Linked DNA regions of Homo sapiens: region 1 is linked to region 2. Evidence: promoter capture Hi-C in 16 types of primary human blood cells and fetal thymus (Javierre and others, 2016). All regions are on one chromosome and are shown on one strand. The core of a region is centred on a gene start or on the middle of the fragment in contact, and the rest is flanking DNA. Distances in the headings are between cores, read along the strand shown. Region 1 overlaps LINC00933 (long intergenic non-protein coding RNA 933). Region 2 holds the start of KLHL25 (kelch like family member 25).

Region 1 (5,718 bases), core at 2,998-5,497, 1.2 Mb after region 2:
GGCTGCGCAGCTATGTGTAGGGGCAGCTGGCTCAAGCTGCTGAGACAGGCGAACAGTGGAAGAGTAAGCTGCTAATAAGAGAGCTAGTGTAAGAAAGCTGTTAATGAGAGCTGCCGCTGAATAAAACTATCTTTCACCTGCCTATGGCCCCCCGATTGTTCTTTCTGCTCACCCACCCACTCCCCTCAGACTTCACCATGGGCTGGACCTGGACCCTGGGATCTGACACACATCTCTGCTAAAAATACAAAAATTAGCCAGTGTGGTGGCCCATGTAATTCCAACTACTAGGGTGGCTGAGGCACGATGATCACTTGAACCCAGGAGGCACGGTTGCAGTGAGCCAGGATCATACCACTGCACTCCAGCCTGTGCAACAGAGCCTGACCCTGTCTCTAAATAAATAAATAAATAAATAAAGTGAAAGACCATTTGTCCAGTATAAACTCTTTCAAAATATATACTCAAGCACAGGAAAGTCTAGAAATGTCATCAATGGTAATTTCAGGAAAGAATTCTAAGGTGACTTTTTTTGGTTATCTGCATTTTTTGTTTTGTTTTGTTTTTTTGAGATAGGGTCTTACTCTGTCACCCAGGCTGGAACATAGTGATATGATCAGGGCTCACTGCAACCTTGACCTCCCAGGCTTAAGCAATTCTCCCACCTCTGTCTCCTGAGTAGCTGGGACTAGAGGCGCATGCCACCACACCTGGCTAATTTTTGTATTCTTGTATTTTTTGCAAAGATGGGGTTTTGCTGCATTGCCCAAGCTGGTCTCAAGCGATCTACCCATCTCGGCCTGCCAGAGTGCTGGGATTACAAGTGTGAGCCAAGTGTGCCAGGCCTACTTTTTTTTCTATAATGACCACGACCATGGGTTTCATGTACCAACTTTTTTTTTTAACAATAAGAGATACAAAGCATATTATGAAAAATGTTCAGGGAAAAAGAAGAATACAAAATTGTAAAAATCATATATAACTAGTTTTTTTTTTTTAAGGCAAGAAAGAAACAAAATAGATTGTCCAGGAAGATGGTTACTTCCACTTTGTATTTCTCTGGTGAACTCATTAGGAACTCTAAAAAGTTCCAGGAGTAGAATCACGGGGTCAAAGTACCCTGGCTATAACTTCCGATTCAGAGAATCCTAACAACTTACATTGTCACCAGCAAGGTCTTTGACTACATGAGCAACTCTCACCTTAAAGCATTTCTCATCTGACATTAGCTGCTTGGCTTTCTGTGGATACGTTGACTCCAGGAGGCTTCTTGAGTTCTGTGTGTTCGGCTGGCCTCCGGTGGCCCCATTATTATTTTCTGCCAGGTAAAGGTCAGTCACCTGTACACAGATCTCATCACTCATGATATGCTGCAGCTGGAATCAAACAACGGCAAGCTGTCAGTGAACACAGAAAACATTTCTCCATTACACAGTCAATGTTCCTTTGACTGATCCAGTCACTCAACTCAAAAGAGGTTTTGGTTTTATTTGGCTGGCAATTTTAGAAAATTCACCAGACAAACCACTGTATCATTTTCTTGGAGAATAATCAAGCTAAGTTTTTCAACCATATCAGTGGTTCATTGTAAAACTTTCATATCTATTTAAAATAAAAACCATAGAGAACTCAGGTTAATGTACTGTTTATTTAAAATTCTAAGGATCTTTAAATAATTTTCCATAGGTCATATTTTATTGCATTTTAAAATCATTTAGAATTTGCTTTCATACATATTCTCTCTCATTTGATCCTCACAACTTCCCTGGGAAGCAGGTTGGAGAGAGAGTTGGGACCTGTTAGGAGACAAATTTACACAATGCATAAGAAAGCTCACTGTGAGTTGGGGTGAGGAGGGGAGCCTTGGAGAATCATGAAAGCAATATCTATATCTTTATTCCCAGCCCAACTACAAAGCCTGAAACTCATTAGGTATTTAAGAAATAGCTGCTGAATTATTGCCTAGGGGTGCTCAGCTGAAGAAGGAGGGTTGGGACTAACAGTCAAGCTTCCTGACTCCTAGCCCAATACTTTTCCAAACACACCACCTATTTTTCTATATCTGATAGAAAGTACAGTGCTTAAGTTGTACATGATGTTATCTCACTTTTAATACAGGCCAATCATGATTGACTATATGTGGCTTTCATGACAATCTTAGGAAACTAATGACTAGAAAGTTGAACCTTTCAGAGTTCCCATTCTCATGTTATATGCTATTTCTATTTTGAAATAAAAATCCTTCCAAATGAAACTTTATCCATCAAAATGTCAGAGAAGTGAAAAATAGATGCAAGAAGAAAGCAAAACGTTAATTTCAATATCAGCCGGGTGTGGTAGCTCATGCCTGTAATCCCAGCACTTCGGGAGGCTGAGGTGGGCAGATCACAAGGTCAGGAGATCAAGACTACCTTGGCTAACACGGTGAAACCCCGACTCTACTAAAAATACAAAAAATTAGCTGGGCGTGGTGGCAGGCACCTGTAGTCCCAGCTACTCAGAAGGCTGAGGCAAAAGAATGGCATGAACCTGGAAGGCGGAGCTTGCAGTGAGCTGAGATCCCACCACTGCATTCCAGCCTGGGCAACAGAGTGAGACTCCATCTCAAAAAAAAAAATTGGGGGCCTGGTAGTTAAAAATCAACCCCTGACCTAACTGCTTGTGTTATCTATAGATTCCAGACATTGTATGGAAAAGCATTGTGAAAATCCCTGTCCTGTTCTGTTCCATTCCAATTACTGGTGCATGCAGCCCCCAGTCACATACCCCCTGCTTCCTCAATTGATCACGACCCTCTCACACAGACCCCCTTAGAGTTGTAAGCCCTTAAAAGGGACAGTCATTGCTTACTTGGGGAGCTTGGCTTTTGAGATGCAAGTCTGCAGAAGCTCCCAGCTGAATAAAGCTCCTTCCTTTTTTAACCTGGTGTCTGAGGAGTTTTGTCTGCAGCTCATCCTGCTACAATATGTCATGGACCAACCTCAAAAACATTAGCTAAGTAAAAAAGCCAGACACGAGACCACATATTGTATAATTCCATTGATTTGAAATGTCCAAAAAAGGCAAATTTATAGAGAAAGAAATGGGCTGATTTATCTCAAGAGGCAGGGATTCAAGCTTTCTAGACTATATGTGATACATAGATGAGAAAAAATAAGGAAAAGAAAATAAATTTAAATAGAAATAAATGAAAATAATACTTCTCCCTGATTATAAAGAAAATCATATTCTTTTTCTAATAATTTGGAAGACAAAATATGAAGAAAAGTCTTTAATTTTGCCACTCAAAACATTCTGCCTTGTTGCTTTTTATACTTTTTTATGCATATACACATTTTAAAAAGTAGAATCATTATATAGTCTTTTGTCACTATGTTTTAGGCATATTTCTATGGCAGTAAATCTATCCTTAGCATCATCATTTTTAATAGCTCGATGTATATTAACTTAATCATTGCCACCCCAGAAATAAATTTTCTTATATGTATATTTTTAGTGGATTAGAGCAAGCATTTTTGGATTTAATTCATAGAAGTAGAATTTCTGGAGGAAAATAACGTACAACAGTTTTAGGGTTTTTAATATAAATTTTCAAATTATCCTGCAGAAAAATTGGTTCAGTTTATACTCCCACCAACAGGGGCAGAGCTCCAGTTTCCCCCTCCCATTTGTCCTCTTCGCTGGTCTTTAAGCAGAAAATCTGATTGTTTTCATTACATTTATTTGGTTTCTAACGCTTTTGAATCTTTTTTTTTTTTTTTTTTTGAGATGGAGTCTTGCTCTGTCATCCAGGCTGGAGTGCAGTGGTGCAGTCTCAGCTCACTGCAATGTCTGCCTCTTGGGTTCAAGCTATTCTCTTGCCTCAGCCTCCAGAGTAGCTGGGATTACAGGTATCCACCACCACACCTGGCTAATGTTTGTATTTTTAGTAAAGACAGGGTTTCACCATGTTGGCCTGGCTGGTCTCACATTCCTGATCTTAGGTGATCCTCCTGCCTTGGCCTCCCTGAGTTTTGGGATTATAGGCATGAGCCACTGCACCCAGCCACCACAGCTAACTTCTTCTTTTTTTTTTTTGAGATGGAGTCTCACTGTGTTGCCCAGGCTGGAGTGCAGTGGCCCGATCTTGGCTCATTGCAAGCTCTGCCTCCCGGGTTCACGCCATTCTCCTGCCTCAGCCTCCCAAGTAGCTGGGACTACAGGCGCCTGCCACCATGCCCGGCTAATTTTTTTTTGTATTTTCAGTAGAGATGGGGTTTCACTGTGTTAGCCAGGATGGTCTCGATCTCCTGACCTCATGATCCGCCCGCCTCAGCCTTCCAAAGTGCTGGGATTACAGGTGTGAGCCACTGCGCCTGGCCGCAGCTAACTTCTAATGAGGCCACCTTAGACAAGTTACTTACTGTCTCTGAGTGCAGTGGTGCAGTAATGGCTCACTGTAACCTTGATCACCTAGACTCAAGAGATCCTCCCACCTCAGCCTCATGAGTAGCTGGGACTACAAGCCTGCACCACCACACCCAGTTAATTTTTCTAGTTTTTGTAGAGACAGAGTTTTGCTATGTTGCCTAGGCTGGTCTTGAATTCCTGGCCTAAAGCAATCCTCCTGCCTTGGCCTCCCAAAGTGCTGGGATTACAGGCATGAGCCACCATGCCCACATTTTCTTTTCCAAGCTATATAGAGGATGCTGTATGCATCCTTCTGGAACTTGTTTTTTTTCACTTAATATTATATTGCTAAGATTCATCCTTATTGTTGTTTATAGCTGGCATTCATTCTTTTTGTATGTTGTGACATCACCAGAAGATAGAGATCCTGAGATCTCTTAAGAACTGCTGCTGGGAGTATACACTGGTATAACCACTTTGGAAAACAATTTGGCTCCATCTCATAAGGCTGAATATTCATACTCCTCCCAGCTCAGCAATTCTACTCTACATCCAAAAGAAATTCTTGCCTATATAAAACAATATAAAACAGGGGATGTGGACAAGGAATGTTCCTAACAGCTCTGTTCAAAATAGCAAAAACCTATTTCCCATCAGCTGGAGAGTGAGCGACTAAATTGTGCTTTTTATTCCCTTTAATTTCCAGTAGTCTTAGGATGCAAGTGGCTTTCCCATGGCTAGCTTGGGGAGGGGGATACTCTTGGCAATGGAGTCTGGGGTGGCAGTCCTGATTAGCCCTAGGGCAATCAGTGCTGCCCAAAACAAGAGAAAATAGAACAAGGTGCCCCACTGAGCCAATGCCCTGGGTCCCTGGAGGTACAGGTTTGTACCTGGAGGAAATAGCCATCATACAAATCAGTCTTTTCAAATGCTTCTGTCACTGGGCTGAGTCCAAAGGACACCCTTTCCCAAAACATTACAAAGCTTATTGGGGCTACCATTTATTGAGCATTTATCATGTGCCTGATCATGTACTAGTGTAGTAATTGTGTGCATTATTTCATTTATTTATTTATTTACTTACTTATTCATTGATTTGAGATAGGGTCTCTCTCTGTTGCCTGAGCTGGAGTGCAGTGGCGTGATCATGGCTCACTGCAGCCTCAAACTCCTGGGCTCAAATGATCTCACCTCAGCCTCCCGAGTAGCTGGGAATACAGGCATAAACCATCAAGTCCAGCTAATTTTTTAAAAAACATTTTCGGGCCGGGCAGGTGGCTCATGCCTGTAATCCCAGCACTTTGGGAGGCCGAGGCAGGTGGATCACAA
Region 2 (5,653 bases), core at 1,384-3,883:
CTTAACTTTAGCTTTATTTTGCATAAGCAAGAAACTTCTATCTTGTTTCAGTCACAGTTAATTTTGGGTTTTCTGTCATATGCAGTAAAAACTAATTCTAACGGATATGAGATTTATTCACAGTATTTCAAAACTGTGTAGACAACTTTGATGCAGCCCTAAGAGTTCTGAGATGAATTCATGGTCCCTGCCCTCCCAGAGCTCCCTGCACAGCAGGTGGACTAGCTAAGCAGGCCATTACAACACTGGCTGGTAAGGGCTGCGTTGACGGTAATGCTCCAGGGTCCGCAATAGATGGCAAGGCAAACTTCCGCTCTTCCTCTCATCTTCTTTCAAATCGTACCTAAATTCGATTAACTCCACACGTGTTCTTAGTCTGATTTTGTCCCATTGCTTACACTGTATTTGATTTTAATATATTCTAGTACCTAATTTAAGCCTTGGAGTTGAAGAGAGAAAAAATTATAATGTGGACCAGATTTTACTGGGCGGTTGGCACTTATAATTTTACAGCGAACCTGCATAAAATAATAAGCAACAGTTATAAACTTGCCAAGAATCAATTTTGCATGTGGAGCTTCATTCAACCAACAATTCTATAAACACTCTAGTGCTAGAAAATCGGCAGGATAAAACTACAAATGTGATCTCTGTCATTTCCTTAATGAAGTAATTACTTTGATGCTAATGTGTTGGAGCTGGTTCCTTCCGGTGGGTTGGTGGTCTCGCTGACTTCAGGAATGAAGCTGCGGACCTTCACGGTGAGTGTTACAGCTCTTAGAGGTGGCGTGAACCCAAAGAGTGAGCAGCAGAAAAATTTACCGTGGAGAGCGAAAGAACAAAGCCCCCACAGCGCCAAAGGGGACCCAAGTGGGTTGCTGCTCCTGGCTGGGGGGCGGCCAGCTTTTATTAGCTTATTTGTCCAGGCCCATGTGCTGCTGATTGGTCCATTTTACAGAGTGCTGATTGGTCCGTTTTACAAACCTCTAGCTAGCCACAGAGTGCTGATTGGTGCATTTCTACAGAGCACTAATTGGTACATTTTACAAACCTCTAGCTAGATACAGAGCGCTGATTGGTGCATTTTACAATCCTCTTGTAAGACAGAAAAGTTCTCCAAGTCCCCACTGGACCCAGAAAGTCCAGCTGGCTTCACCTCTCACTACCTTTTCTCTTCAGAAGGCACCTTAACAGTGCACTTGGCAAGCTTCTTACCTCTGGCCAATATTGTTCATAAATATCAGAACCCTGGTGCCTTAGATGTCTGCAGATCTGGGCCAAATGGAAGCACAAATCTGTACTGAGCACTTACTACATGCCAGGCCTATTCCATATGTTATCTTAATCTTTCCCATACCCCTGCAAGAAAGGTTTTAGAATCCTCTTCACCAGTAAGAACCAGACACCAGAGAGTCTGAGCCATCTGCTTCAGTCCTACCCAGCTCTTGAGGGGCAGGGCGGGGCTTCAAACCCAGAACATCAAGCTGTTTCCCAAAAATGCCTTCCCTGGTGGTATCTTCTCATCATCTCCCAGTCTTTTAACCCTGGCATATCTGTCCTGTCTAAGCAGCTTTCTACCCAGGGGCTCTATTTCCCAGGTTCCACTAGTCACAATCCTATCCCCTCTCCCAAATCTTTGTACACTTTCTTAGACCTTCCTTGCACCTCCCACCTCCACCTCCGTCAGGGTGACCTCTGCTTCCTGGGAATTTCCCCGCCCCAGGCTTGGCTCTTTCGTTCTTATCACTTTCTATGCTTTACCTTTTGTATCCTTAAGCAACCTACTTGAATTATCGATTTTCATTGGGAGGGAGAAAAGAGAGGACATTTATTGCGCACTCATTTGTCTGGGAATTTGTCTCCTTTAATCCCCCAAATAATCCGATGAGGAGTTTTTATCTGCCGCTTTACGGATGAGATTGGACACACACAGTAAGCTGAAGTAGTAGTCAGGAGGGAAAAGGACGAAGAATCACAAACCGTTCTCCCCCTCCAAGATGAGTGCATGGTGTGGGCGTCCAGGAAACGTTCCTGGAAGAAATTATTGGATGGATGGATGAATGAATGAATGAACGAACATTTAAAGGCTGGCTTACGAAAGGAGTTTAGTGAGAAATGACACAGAGAGGAGAGCTGAAATACTCCAAAAAATACAGATTTCAAGTACAGGTGGGGTTTGGAGGCTGCAGAAAGTCCCAAACATTCAAACAAGCCCAGAGTGAAAGACAGGGTTTCATTAACACTCGGGCAACTACTAGTGTGGCTCTGAAGAGTCTAAAGAGATCTACAACACTTGTGACCCGAACACAAAAGAGGCATATGCAATCTACAGTGCTCCCTCTGGAAAGCTCTAGAACACCGTCGCGTTTTGTTCCCAAACTTGGGCGGCGGGGTTGGGCAGGCGCCTGTCTCTTTAAGAATCTGGTCGAAGTCCTTTTCCTCGCCCCGCCCCGCCCCCGGTCCCCCCCCCTCCCCGCCCCCGGCCCCCCACCCCCCGGTGCCGGCGCGGCCTGGGGCCCACCCCCTTCTTTTCTGCGGCTGCACTGAAGGGTTCGGCTGCCCATCCGTCACAGAGGCGATGCCTCTGATTGGCTGCTGCTCTTCGGGCCGGGAGGCGGGGCGGGAAGGCCGGAGAAACTAGTTTGTTGGCGGCGCCTAGGCTGTATCGCAGCGAGAGCGTTTTTGCCTGTGGAGAGCCGGCCGACGGGAGCCGCGGCGGAGCCTGTTGAGCTCGCGCGGGCTGCCGGGAGTGGTCTCTGAGGCGGCGGCGGCGGCGGGGATCGTCTCCGGCAGTGAGTATCCAGGCCGGGCGGGGACGCCGTGCTCTGGCCGCAGCACCCGCGCCCCCGCTCCCTGCGCTGGGGACTCACCACCCCGGGCCGGGCCGGGACCAAGCGCTCGGAGCCCCCGCGGGACTACGTGTCCCGGGAGGGGGCCCCGCGGCTGGGGCCGGGGCCCTGGGACAATGGTGGGGAGCGGCGGCCGGCCGGCACCCCGCGGCTCCGCGAGGGAATTCGCCGAGAGCTCTGCGCGAGGGAATGAATTGTTTGGCAAATGGATGTTGCGCGCGGGAGCCGCTACTCTTTCCCCAGGGAGTGGTTGATTCATTGAGTCCGCAGACTCTTTTTTTTAAAAAATTACTATTGATCCTGGAAAGAGAGACTGCTTGTCTTTGAGGACGCGAGCGGCGATGCCCCGCGCCTTGGACGCCCAGGCCGGATGGCTGCCTGCCTGGCGCAGAGCGAGGGCCCGGGGTTCACAAGGGGAGGGTTTGCGCGGGCCTGGCCGCGGAGCCCCGAGCCGTTCACGTTCCGCCTGCCAGGGTCCCTCGTTTCGGTTTGCAGAACTGTCCAGCGGCAGAGAAAGGTCGCACTCAAAGGCACACCCACCTGTCCACCTGGGTGGCGGCCAGACTGGCAGGTCCAGAGCAAGCCCTCTAGCCTGACTCTAATTACCACACTTGCCCTGGCTCCGAGACACACCGCGCGATGTTACGCCCCCACTCCCCCTGTCTCTTTCGTAGTTGCTTTAGAAGCTTTTCTCTTGGGGGATTGTGCCCGGGAGATACCAGATACTTTTTTTGTGTTGCTGCTCTAAGCCCCCAAAGTGCATTCCCATTGTCTTTGAACAAAGAAACATCTCTCTAGAGGCCTGACCCAACGAACTGTGGGTGAGGGGGCGGACCCAGGCCCCTGCAGATTTAATCTGGACGCTCTTGGGTCCTGCTGGATCCCGGTGAATTTGACCTTGGGGAAGGCGGGCTGGACTTTGACTCTCCTCGGTAGTCAGGGCAGAGAATGCCAGGTGTCTGGACCATTTGGTTCCACTCTATCGGCCCAATAGAGAGAGGAAGGGAAGGAAGTTAGCAGTAGCACCAGGAGAGGAGGCAGGATTCCACGGTCTGTATCCTGGACCAGATTCCAGTGACCGTTATGGGGCCAAGCCCTCTGGGACCCTGGGTCCCAGTCTCCCCATTCATAGGAGGAACTGATGCTCAGTGTGCTGATCTGAGCTGTGAGGATTCCTGGCATGTTGGTGAAGGCTTGCGTGGGGGTCTGGGGAAGAGTAGGACACAAAGTCTACCCCACCTCAGGGTCCATTTGGTGTCCCAAGACCGGAGGCTCTTGGGTCCACAAGCTGTGCCTGTGAAGGTTGACGTAGTCAGTCTTTTTCCGGCCTGGCAGCTATTTCAGTTTTGAGTCATTTGTCAGGCAGTGACTCCAGGGTGGTTGATAAAAGGGAGGTAGAAATGGAAGACACCTTCATCCTGGGGTCTTGGGCTGCAGTTGGATTTATGTATGTGGTGCGGAGAGAAGAGCTATAGGCAAATTGCATGCTCCACATCGGAAGCAGGTTCTGCAGCCCGATGCCCCTTAATAGCGTTTTAAATCTGCGGGCACCCCGTGTGGGCAGAAGAGAGCAGGAAGAAAAGAGAACAATTACCCAGTGAAAGCAAGCTTGGTTCGTCCCGTCTATCACTTGGGCGGGGGCGGGGGGAAGGGTAGGATGAGTGAGAGTGTTATTTAGTGGGTGGTTTGTGACTGATTGATTGATTGATTCATTGTTTGAACAGACTTGATTGGGCACCTGCTGTGTGCCAGGCCCTGAGTTAGGTGCTGGAGACTCTTCCTTTAGTGAGCACCTAGATGAGGGAGTGCTGGCACATGGATTAGGGGCCCTGACACATCGTAGTGATAGAGGCAGCAAGAGGAGAGAAGGAGACACAGGTGGGCAAGGCTTCCTGGGGAGAGGATGCCTTGACTAAGATGAGAAAGGCATGTCATCGCCCAGATTCGAGGTGTAGGGCAGCCACCTTTGTCCTGTCGCTCACCCACACTTCTCCCAGAGGCCCAATTCATTGCCAGCCTCAAGATAGGCACAGGTTGAGGCCATGGAGAATGCAAGTGGGAGGTGGTAGAAGGTTTGCTCTCGTCCGTAGTGTCTGGCCGCACAGTCAGCAGTCCAGCGCATTTGTAGGAAGCTGGATGGCTTCTGGATGCAGCCTCTCTTCTCTGGGGGTCCTGGGAGAACCTACCCCCTGGTCCCAAAGACCAGCCCATTGTCTGAGCCCCTAGTCCCTCTGTACCACCAGGCAGTGTAGGCATAGCCTGGCCAGTGTGGGCAGAGCTGGCACAAGAAAACAGAGTGGCCAGACACAAATGAATTGGTTGATTGAGATGCTGGTTTTCATCTAATGTGGTAAATTTCATAATTTAATTGCCTCAGCCAGCCAAGGCTGTTGAAGCATTTTCCTCACCAGGAAACACTTAGTTGGAACAAGCTGGGGGTAGAGGAGGGAGGTGCAGGGGAGGAGGGAGGAGGGAGAACTTAAGCATCCACAGCTTTCAGTCACAGCATCCCAACAGGACTTATCAATCAGCAGCTATCCCCAGCTGATGGAAGTCAGCCCAGCCCCTACAGTAGGTTCCAACCCCTTTCCTTGACCACCTCATTGCCATACCAACCTAAAGCTGTCAAAAGCTGACACCTGTCATCTTCAAGGCATAATCATCCCATACTGCCTCCAGGTCCTTCTGGGGCTGTTAGAAACTGGGGAAGGGGTGCTGTGGGATTAGGTGGGGAAGCGAAGGGGTTTGGGGATAGGAAGGGCTCCCTGTTAAGTCCTTTTAACCCAGGAGCAGTGGAAAGAGCA

What was found. Contacts are between HindIII fragments. The CHiCAGO score rates a contact against its expected background, and 5 or more counts as called.
Region 1: a contact is called between a fragment that was not itself captured here and the fragment with the promoter of KLHL25 in region 2, in 1 of 17 cell types (total B cells). The highest score is 6.3, in total B cells.

Annotation. Positions count from the first base shown.
Region 1 is chr15:84,573,606-84,579,323 of GRCh38, reverse strand. LINC00933 (long intergenic non-protein coding RNA 933) reads right to left here. Exons shown (of 4, transcript NR_038274.1): 4 at 1-1,376. Among named protein-coding and RNA genes, the nearest start is that of LINC00933, 5.8 kb to the right of the region's middle. The HindIII fragment of the contact is 2,256 bases long and covers 3,120-5,375 here.
Region 2 is chr15:85,791,905-85,797,557 of GRCh38, reverse strand. It overlaps KLHL25 (kelch like family member 25), which reads left to right and starts at 2,633. Exons shown (of 3, transcript NM_022480.4): 1 at 2,633-2,792. RefSeq lists silencers at 2,443-2,512, 2,663-2,962. The HindIII fragment of the contact is 2,328 bases long and covers 1,210-3,537 here.